Regions from separate parts of the Homo sapiens genome. Here region 2 is linked to region 1. The links are contacts of gene promoters, found by promoter capture Hi-C in blood cells and fetal thymus (Javierre and others, 2016). All regions are on one chromosome and are shown on one strand. The core of a region is centred on a gene start or on the middle of the fragment in contact, and the rest is flanking DNA. Distances in the headings are between cores, read along the strand shown. Region 1 holds the start of FAM89A (family with sequence similarity 89 member A). Region 2 holds the start of LINC00582 (long intergenic non-protein coding RNA 582).

Region 1 (5,383 bases), core at 1,544-4,043:
TCCTTACCCTGGGATATTATTTGTTGATACTGATTTCAATACTCTTACCTCACTGAGTATAGGCCAGAACGCAGAGCCTGCCTTTAAAATGTTAAGGTTGGCCTGGCGTGGTGGCTCATGCCTGTAATCCCAGCACTTTGGGAGGCTGAGGTGGGTAGATCGTGAGGTCAGGAGTTCAAGACCAGCCTGGCCAAGATGGTGATGGGTATGGTGGCGGGTGCCTGTAATCCCAGCTACTTGGGAGGCTGAGGCGGAGAATTGCTTGAACCCGAGAGGTGGAGGTTGCAGTGAGCCAAGATCGCGCCACTGCACTCCAGCTTGGGCGACAGAGTGAGACTCCATCTCAAAAAAGAAAAAAAAAATTGGTAAGGTTGGCATTGTCTAAGTTGTGCCTCTTTTCTCGAGTCCTGACACCACGGACCTCATGCTGCTGTCTAGCTGACCCTAACCTCCTTTTCCTTCTGTAATCCGTAATTCTCTGAAGTATGTGCTTTAAAATGCTTTCAGTGCCCCGATACTTCAAAGTGATTTCTTTTCTTATTTCACCATCACATAGCTGAATCTCCTATCACCTACCTTGAGTGATTTCTGCTAGGTACTACAGGTGAGACTGCATTGTAACCAGTGAAATTAAAGAAATTCATGCAGGCTGGGCGCGATGGCTCACACCTGTAATCCCAGCACTTTGGGAGGCCGAGGTGGGTGGATCACCTGAGGTCAGGAGTTCGAGACCAGCCTGGCCAACATCGTGAAACCCCATTTCTACTAAAAATACAAAAATTAGTCGGGCGTCGTGGCACATGCCTGTAATTCCAGCTACTTGGGAGGCAGAGACAGGAGAATTGCTTGACCCAGGAGGCAGAGGTTGCAGTGAGCTGAGATCACGCCACTGCACTCTAGCTTGAGTGATAGACTGTCTCATAAAAAAAAAAAAATTCATGCTAAGGTGTGAACCGAATGTCAAAATGCTTCCCACCCCTTCCTCTCCCTTACTCCCACACAGGCAGACTGGTCACTCTCCTGAAGACACCCACCGTTTACATAAGTGAATGAATAAATACCTGACATCCAGAAATGTGACTAGGTAATTAGTAGAAGGTGAGGCACAGTGAAGAGGCGGAAAATTCTGGGCAGTGGGTGGGGTGGGAAGCCTGGGTGCTGTCAATCACACCGCCTGCACTAAAGCTTCTTCATATCAGTCTCACCCACTTGCAACCGTCCAGGGAGAATATTGTGCCAATTTCAAAGACACTGCTTCTGGGGTGGGCTCTAGGAGGTGGTAAAGGGTATAAAACAACCCAAAGTGCAGGGCTCTTTTATGTTGGGTGTCTGAAGTGCTCAGAACACTTTATAATTTTGATCCCCTTGAATGTAGCTAGAAAATTAAATCCCTTTATAATTAAAGCCAATAATGAATGGGCATTAAAGTTATCCAATCTATACACTGCATTAGTTTTTAATCTGCGGTTGGGCTGTAGCGTTTACTTCTTGATCTTTTCTATCTCTAATCTGGTTATAACTGCCTGTCATTTTTACTTTTCCTGGGAGGGGCAGAGTCTCTCTCTCTCTTCTCTTTTCCTCTGAGGTGTGCGTCGTGTTTATTTTTGCCTGAGCTGATGGATAATTTCCGAGATTTAATCCCTTTCTCTGGTTTCCTGACATTTCCACTTAGAGTTACTCTTGTGTTTATGGCCAGAATGAAAGGCATGTTTACTAGTGTTTTGAAGTTTCAAAAGTGGGTCTGGCGTTCTTGCTGACTGCTGCGGGTACTGCTGGACAAGGCCGTGCTGAGAAGGCCAGCGCGCCCGGCGGCAAGGAGCGACCTGCCCGGGTCTGGGGCCCCCAGCCGCCCCCCGCGGCGAGTGGGAGGCAGCAGGAGGCGGGCTGGATTCCGCCCTCGGGGAGGGCCGGGGGTCCTGGGACCAGAGCCAGGCCTCCTGCCCTCGACGTCCTGCCGGTTGTGAGCCAGAGCCTCGGTACCCCCACCCCCTGCAACGGCCTGCTTCGTGGGATCTGAAGCTGGGCCGCCCCCTGGGCAGGGCAGGGATCGGTGAGGCAAGGAGCTGAGGAGCGCTGGCAGGTAAGGGGGAAGTCTGGAGCCGGGTTGGAGGTGAGCGGGCGTTGAGGGGTGGGACAGAGGGAGTGGAGACGGGGCTGGGGGCGAGCCAGTGAACTGGGGGTGGCACAGAGGAGGTGGGAGCAGAGATGGGGGTGATCCGGAAGCCTGGGGTGGGGGGTGAGTGGGTTCGGAGCTGAGGGTGAGCCAGTGAGCTGAGGGTGGCACAGAGGGCGTGGGGGCGGAACTGGGGGTGAGCCGGGAAGCTGGGGGTTGGCACAGAGGAGGTGGGGACAGAGATGCGGGTGAGCCGGGAAGCTGGGGTTCGGGGTGGCGCGGGTGAGAGGGTTCGGAGCTAGGGGTGAGCCGGGAAGCTGGGAGGTGGTTCAGAGGAGGTGGGGACAGAGATGGGGGTGAACCGGGAAGCTGCGGGTCGCGGGGGGCTTAGTAGGTTCGGAGCTAGGGAGTGGCACAGAAGGGTTCGTGACGGGGCTGGAGGTGAGTCGGGGGGTTAGAGGGTAGTCACGCGGAGTTGGAGATGAATTAGGGCGCTGGAGGGGCGCGAGGGAGGAGGAGACCCGGGTGGAGGCGAGCCCGGCTGCTGGACGCGGACGCCACCCGGACCCGGGGCCCGCGCAGGGGCCTCGAGGAGAGGGGGCGGGGCCGGGGGGGCGTGGCGCGGGAGGGGAAGTGGGCGGGGCACCGCCGGGAAGGGGGCGGGCCGGGGGAAAGCCTTGGTTCGCTGCAGCGGGGCAGGCGCGTGGCCGGGCCGCGGCGCGATGAGTGGGGCCCGGGCGGCGCCCGGGGCCGCGGGCAACGGCGCGGTCCGGGGGCTGCGGGTGGACGGGCTGCCCCCGCTGCCAAAGAGCTTGAGCGGGCTGCTGCACTCGGCGTCGGGCGGCGGCGCGTCTGGGGGCTGGCGGCACCTGGAGCGGCTGTACGCGCAGAAGTCGCGCATCCAGGACGAGCTGAGCCGCGGGGGCCCGGGCGGCGGCGGGGCCCGGGCGGCAGCGCTGCCCGCCAAGCCTCCCAACCTGGACGCCGCTCTGGCGCTGCTCCGCAAAGAGATGGTGAGTGGGGCTCCGCGAGCTGGGGCTCTTCCCGGCCGGGCTCGCCGTCCCGGGAAAGTTCGCGGGGACCGCGCTCTGTCCGGAAGTCCCCGCGCCCACCCGCCCTTTCGGGCTCCTCCGCCCCAGGCGCCGGCGCCGTCCTCCCAACGACCCCCATTTTTCTCGCGTGCTCCGTGCCCACGATTGGAACCCCCGCGGGAGAGCCCCGCGCGCAGAGGGCGGCTTTCTTATGCCCGGCGCCCTCAGTCCGGCCCCGCTGGCTCGGAAACCTGGGCGCCCGGAAGCGCTGTGCGGGGTTCGTGCCTGGCCTGGGGGCGGGGGCGGCCTTGTCACCTCTCCCCGAGTGAAACAGACCTTCCCGGTGGGGGAAAGGCTTTCACAGCGGCCCAACGGATTAACGCGATTGCGTTTTCCTACCACGAAGAGGACAACTTTTGTCCGCCGCCAGTGTAGACAGCAGATTGGAACAGCCCGGCCCCCTTTCCGGCGCCCCAGGCCGCGCGTCCGTGATCCGATTACCGCGGGATGGCCCCGGCGCACAGATGGCTGCGAAAGCAGACGCGCACCCCGGGCGAGGGAGGCGGCCGGGTCCCTCAGCCCCGCGAAGCTGATTGCCCAAACCCTCTTGAGAAAGGTGGGAGGTGGCTGTCCTCCCGGTCTGGGTGCTGTCCATGTGAGTTCTTCGCCTTGTGTCTAAGCTCCATACCATGGGCTCAGTGTTTCTCTGTGCTTGGGAAGTACATTAGCTGTTTGTGGACCAGAACACACATGATTTAGGGTGACGCTAAAAGTAGGACAAGGGCAGGGATTTAGGCAACAGCGAGTCTTTCCCCAGCTTTCTCGGCCAGGCGTAGGCCAGGCAAGAAGAAATCAAAAACTTTTCCTCTTTTCTACCATCTTACTGGCCCCCATCACCTCCTCCCAATCCCCTCGTTTTAAAAGCCTCCCTTTCCATTCACCTCGTCCAGGTTGTCTCCTTTCCCTATAGGTAAATTGTTAAGAAATCTAACATTAGGAAAGCTGCCTTTTCCCAAAACTAAATTTGCCAAAAAATAAATTGTTATAGGAATCTTTTAAATATGTATCTAGTGCATTTAAGATATTGTTTAGAAAAATTCAGGGTATGCATACTTTTTTTTCAGGAGCATTATCTGTTCTGAAAACTAAGACTTAATTGAATTCAGAAAGCAGCCTTAACACTTTTAATCAAAGAGATATTGTCTTCCTACTCTGTAGCTGGCATTGAAGTGATTTCCAATTCTCACTGAAAAGATTTTCTAAGCTTCTTACAGAACCACTTAAATTCCAAGCCAACCGTTTTTAATTTATTAAAAAACATTCATTGACATAAGCATCACACAGCTGGTGAACTGCATTTTAATTAGATAAATCTACACGTAGTGTGTTTACAGTCTGAACTTGGACATAGCAGAACCACGGGGGTGAAGTAGGAAGATCATCTTTGATTATTTAAATTCCATACTTGAGCAAGAGATAGAAAAACCTCGGGGCCGCTCCTGTTGTGAAGCTGTGGTTTATAAACATGCTCTGGAGTCTTGCTATGGTGGCTTGGGAGTCAACGTGCCATTCCCAGAAGTATTTTTCCAGGTCCCTCCTGGTGTGACTGAAGCACAACCACATCCGTATAATTACGCCTTGGACCAGAGCTCTCTGTAAGCCTATTTGAAGCACAAGAAAAATAAACAGCCATCTTTGGTCTGCCTGGTATTTAGCTGAGATAAAGATAAGATATGGCTGCAGGTTTTGACAAGTTCCTTTCAAGAAATGTCACAAGGCCTTTAAAGTTGCCCAGAGAATCTTTCGGCTTTTTAATTGATTTACTGACTTGGGGCCATGGGGTCTGAGTGGACAACTCAAGCTGAGACTCCCTCTGGGGAGGCCTTGCAAAACAAGAACTGGGAGTTCATTCCTGAGATATCTGCAAAATAGTTTGTGTTGATCTGTTTAAATTGAAGGCCTGACGTCAAATCTGTGGCAGGGGACATAACTAGATGTCATGGTAGAATGTGATAAATGCCTTAAAGAAATTTTTTTTTTTAAAGCAAGCATAGAAAGAGGGGCAACTTCTAATAGGGACAGGGAGCAGGGTGGTGTGGAAGACCTCAGAAGGCGACAGAATTTCGACAAGGGAAAGAGGCACCAGGAAGGTAGCTGCGGAGCTGGAACTGGGAGTGCGCCAGTTTGAAATGTGAGCAAGAAGGGCCTGGGCAGGTGGACCGAGTGGACTCTGAGAAGC
Region 2 (5,383 bases), core at 1,869-4,368, 570 kb before region 1:
TAAATATCTGCATTCCACTGGTGGCCATGATAGTAATAGAAAATGCGTAAGGCGAAAGTGTTCTCACAGGACCATACAGGGAAGTGAATCATCCTGGATCACACATGTCTGAGATCCTGAGCTTCACACCTTGGGTCAGATGTGTGTTGTCAGCTGAGAAACTGAGCTGCATTCTTGAGCATGAGCCAGACGCCTTGACAGATGGTAAGTACCTGCTCCTCCGGGCACCCATCATCTAAGCAGCCTGGCAGAAGGATCCCAGCTCCCTGTGCCCAGCTGGTAATCTTCTTATGTCCTGGGGCTTAAGGAGTGATAGCCCTTTGCAATTGTTCTTTCCAGGCAAAGCTTAAAGCTGAGAAGTCTGCTTTACACTTAATTGTTTATAGTAAGAAAGATGGATACGGATAGACAGACAAGCCAGGGATTGGAAAGGAAAACTGACAATATCTGACATTGCTTATTATTAGAGTTTCAAAGCATTTTCTCATCCATTTGCTCTTTTGATTATTACAACCAACATTTGGGAAAGCAGGAAGGAATCATTCCAATTTTATAATAAACCAAAGAAACTGAGATGCAGAGAGTTGCCCACAGCATGGCTAGTAACAGGCAGTGCATCCAACAGGACTGGATTGCCCAGCAAACTTTCTGCACCCAAATAAAATACAGGTTCTGCCTGCAGGGGTCTTGGCTCTTTGGGGAGTACACAGAGACACATTTTTTAAAGTTACTTAGAACTTCGGAGGAGGCAGAAAACCACTATGGGCTCAGGTGGTCTTTGTGAAAGAGGAGAGAAGACAGGGAGAGTCTCTCAGGCAAGAGGAAAATTGAGAGTCAAGCCACATGGCTTGTCTAAGAGAACCCCCAACCTGCAGCTGACAGCTCATCTTGGCGAGAATCCAGAGAAGGCGACTTCAGAGATGAAGGTGAAGGCCAGGTTGTGAAAGGCCTTTAATGCCAGGCTAACTAAGGGGTTGAGCTTTTTTCTCATCACCAAGAAGGGGCCATTAAAGATTCTGAAGCAGCGGGGAATCTGTACCAACTAGGCTTTCGGGGAAAGATGACTCTGAGGGAAAAGAGAGGCAGCAGGATGAGGAGCCCAGGTACGGGTTGGGAGGACTGGAAGTGGGAAGCAGGAGAGAGGTGGTGGGAAAGTGGAAGGGAGTTGGAGTGGAAGGAATTGAGAGGAAAGGACCACAGTGCAAGGCAGTATGAAGAAATAATGGCACCCCTAAAGTTAAGTTTGAGATTTGGGATGGATGTGGTTGGAAGTCCCTAGCAAGTCATAAGAGATGATGGGCTGATGGTCAGGAGAAAGGTCAAGAGACATTTATCTGTGTAGATATGATCATTGAAGTATTAGAAGGGATAAGAAGGTTGAATGGGAATGGAACACTGAAACTTGGGTCCTACTAACTTTAAGAAGTTGGATCAGAAAGGCAAGCAAGAAAAAGATGTAAGAGATGGGAAGAGAAGCAGAACAGAGGGAAGGCAGCACTCCCAAGAAGTCTTCCCAATCAGGCCCCTGGCTCCAGTTGTGCCCGTTCCCTTCTTTACACCAACTTCCTCCCTGTGTCTAAGCTGGGTTCATGTCCCAGGTCCTGCCACACTCCAGAAGTGTAGTATCAAGTTAGAGACTTAGAGACATCTGCGGAAGTTTACTAGTCTTGTGACAATCCAGAGCAAAGTCATGAAAACCAGACAAAAATAGTTTCAAAAAGGAGATGTGGGACTGGGCACTGTGGATTTGAGAGGTTGAGGCAGGAGGATTGCTTGAGGCCAAGAGTTCAAGAACAATCTGGACAATGTAGGAGACCCCATCTCTGCAAAAAATAAAAATAAAAACTAGCCTGGCTCAGTGGCATGTACCTGTGGTCTCAGCTACTCAGGAGGCTGAGATGGGAGAATTGCTCAAACCCAGAAGGTTAAGGCTTCAGTCAGCTGTGATCACGCCACTGCACTCCAGCCTGGCCAACAGAGCCAGACCCTGTCTCAAAAAAAAAGTGGGTGAGGGGGGAGATATTGGGCAATAAAAACTGCAAAGACAGAACAAGTAGGAAGGCAAAAGAGAAGAATTGCTTCAAGGGAGCTGTTTCAGGTAGAATTCCAGGAGCAGGCTGAAAAGGTGAAGGTGCTAAGGAGGATATGGATGGCACAGAAGCAAATGTTCAGCATACTCCCTACTCTTTCAAGAAGTTTTGCAGAGAAGGGAGGGAAAGTGTGGGGAGGAATTGTCAATGGAAAGCAAGAGAAAAAGAAGATTCTTTTTTTTTCTGAGACAGAGTTTTGCTCTTATCGCCCAGGCTGGAGTACAGTGGCGTGATCTCTGCTCACTGCAACCTCCGCCTCCTGGGTTCAAGAGATTCTCCTGCCTCAGCCTCCTGAGTAGCTGGGATTACAGGCGCCCACCACCATGTCCAGCTAATTTTTTTTTTTTTTGGTAGAGACGGGGTTTCACCATGTTGGCCAGGTTGGTCTCAAGCTCCTGACCTCAGGTGATTCCCCTGCCTCGGCCTCCCAAAGTGCTGGGATTACAGGCGTGAGCCACTGCACCCAGCCAAGAGAAGGTTCTTTCAGATACTGTAACATGGTTATAATTAGGCAGAGAGTCTCAGCCCTTCAGCTGATAAACAACTTCAGCAAAGTTTCAGGATACAAAATCAATGTACAAAAATCATTGGCATTCCTATAAACCAACAACAGTCAAGCTGAGAGCCAAATCAGAAAGGCAATCCCATTCACAATTGCCACAAAAAAAGAATAAAATACCTAGGTATACAGCTAACCAGGGAGGTGAGAGATCTCCAACACTGCTCAAAGAAATCAGAGAAGACACAAACAAATGGAAAAACATCCCATGCTCATGGATAGGAAAAATCAATATTATTAAAATGGCCATACAATCCAAAGCAACGTACAGATTCAATGCTATTCTTATCAAACTACCAATGACATTGTTCACAGAACTAGAAAAAAGAAACTACTTTAAAATTAATATGGGGTCAGGCGCAGTGCCCAATGCCTGTAATCCCAGCACTTTAGGAGGCTGAGGTGGGTGGATCACCTGAGGTCAGGAGTTCGAGACCAGCCTGGACAATATGGTGAAACCCCGTCTCTACTAAAATTACAAAAATTAGCCAGGTATGGTGGCATGCACCTGTAATCCCAGCTACTTGAGAGGCTGAGGCAGGAGAATCGCTTGAAACCAGGAGGCAGAAGTTGCAGTGAGCCAAGATTGTGACACTGCATTCCAGCCTGGGCAACAGAGTGAGACTCCAAAACAATAATAATATGGAACCAAAAAAGAGCCTGAATAGCCAAGGCAATCCTAAGCAAAAAGAACAAAGCCAGAGAAATTATGGTTCCTGACTTTGAACTATACTACAGGGTTACAGTAACCAAAACAGCATGGTACTGGTACAAAAACAGGCACATAGATCAATAGAACAAAATAGAGAGCCCAGAAATAATGCTGCATGCCTACAACCACCTGATCTTCAACAAACTAGACAAAGACAAGCAATGGGGAAAAGACTTCCTATTCAATAAATGGTGCTGGGATAACTGGCTAGCCACATGTAGAAGATTGAAGCTGGACCCCTTCCTTACACCATATACAAAATCAATTCACAATGGATTAAAGACTTAAATGTAAAACCCAAAACTATAAAAATCCCACAAGACAACCTAGGCAATACCCTTCGGGACATAAGAATGGGCAGAGAGGCTGGGCACGATGGCTCACGCCTGTAATCCCAACACTGTGGGAAGCTGAGGCAGGTGGATTGCCTGAGCTCAGGAGTTTGAGACCAGCCTGGGCAACATGGTGAAACCCCGTCTCTACTAAAATACAAAAAATTAGCTGGGTGTGGCAGTGTGCGCCTGTAGTCTGAGCTTCTCTGGAGGCTGAGGCAGGAGAATTGCTTGAACCCAGGAGGCGGAGGTTGCAGTGAGCCAAGATTGTGCCACTGCACTCCAGCCTGGGCGATAGAGCGAGACTTTGTCTGAAAAAAAAAAAAAAAAAAAAAAAAAAAAAAGAATGAGCAAAGATTTCATGACAAAGACACCAAAAGCAATCGCAACAAAGGCAAAAATTGACAAGTGGTATCTAATTAAACTTAAGAGCTTCTGCACAGCAAGAGAATCTACCAACAGAGTAAACAGACAACATACACAATGGGAAAAAATACTGGCAAACTATGCATCTGACAACGGTCTAATATCCAGCATCTATAAGGAACTTAAATTTGCAAGAGAAAAACAAACAACCCCGTTAAAAAGTGGGCAAAGGACATGAACAGACACTTTTCAAAAGAAAACATACATGCGGCCAACAAGCATATGAAAGAAAGCTCAATACCACTAATCATTAGAGAAATGCAAATTCAAACCACAGTGAGATACCACCTCACACCAGTTAGAATGGTTATTATTAAAAAGTCAGAAAATAACAGATGCTGCTAGGCTGCAGAGAAAAGGGAACATTTATACACTGTTGGTGGGAGTGTCAATTAGTTCAACCATTATGGAAAGAAGTATGGCGATTCCTCAAAGAGCTAAAAGCAGAACTACCATTTGACCCAGCAATCCCATTACTGGGTGTATACCCAGAGGAATATAAATCATTCTACCATAAAGACACATGCACGCGAATGTTCACTGCAACACTATTCACAATAGCAAATACATGGAATCAACCTGAATGACCATCAATGACAGATTGAATAAAGCAAATGTGGTACATACACACCGTGGAATACTAAGCAGCCGTAAAAACGAACAAGATCATGTCTTTTGCAGGAACATGGATGGAGCTAGAGGTCATTGTCCTTAGTAAAGTCACACAGGAACAGAAAACCAAATACCACATGTTGTCACTTATAAGCAGGAGCTAAATGACAAGAACTTATGAACACAAAGAAGGAAACAACAGACACTGGTGTCTACTTGAGGGTGGAGGGTGGGTGGGGGGAGAGGAGCAGAAAAGATAACTATTGGGTACTGGGCTTAATACCTGGGTGATCAAATAATCTGTACAACAAAACCCTGTGACATGAGTTTACCTATGTAACGAACTTTTACATGTAACCCTGAACCTAAAATAAAAGTTTAAAAAAAATGGAAAAGAGGGTAGTCATTACCGGGGTAGGCAGAGGGAGGAAAAAGCCCTTAAGAGAAAGATCAGCAAGCTAAGGAAGAGGAGGAGGTGTGCAGGCTGGGAGTTGAGCCCCACTGCCCTCCTCCTTTATAGGGCAGCAGCAGGATGCAGGAGAGATATCAGCCTCCCAAGCATCACTTCTCAGGAATGCAGTGGAGCTAGCCCTGCTAACTGCAATACTATGACAGGGATTCTGAAAGGGCATTCCTCTTATAATTAAATACC

Evidence for each region. Contacts are between HindIII fragments. The CHiCAGO score rates a contact against its expected background, and 5 or more counts as called.
Region 2: a fragment that was not itself captured here is called in contact with the fragment with the promoter of FAM89A in region 1 in 1 of 17 cell types (naive CD8 T cells); the score reaches 6.5 in naive CD8 T cells.

Annotation. Positions count from the first base shown.
Region 1 is chr1:231,037,664-231,043,046 of GRCh38, reverse strand. It overlaps FAM89A (family with sequence similarity 89 member A), which reads left to right and starts at 2,793. Exons shown (of 2, transcript NM_198552.3): 1 at 2,793-3,126. The coding sequence starts at 2,836. RefSeq lists silencers at 2,632-2,741, 3,002-3,051, 3,692-3,771 and an enhancer at 3,434-4,115. The HindIII fragment of the contact is 3,223 bases long and covers 1,188-4,410 here.
Region 2 is chr1:231,606,824-231,612,206 of GRCh38, reverse strand. The region is part of intron 4 of TSNAX-DISC1 (TSNAX-DISC1 readthrough (NMD candidate)); the gene reads right to left. It overlaps LINC00582 (long intergenic non-protein coding RNA 582), which reads left to right and starts at 117. Exons shown (of 2, transcript NR_034037.1): 1 at 117-204. The HindIII fragment of the contact is 5,541 bases long and covers 348-5,383 here.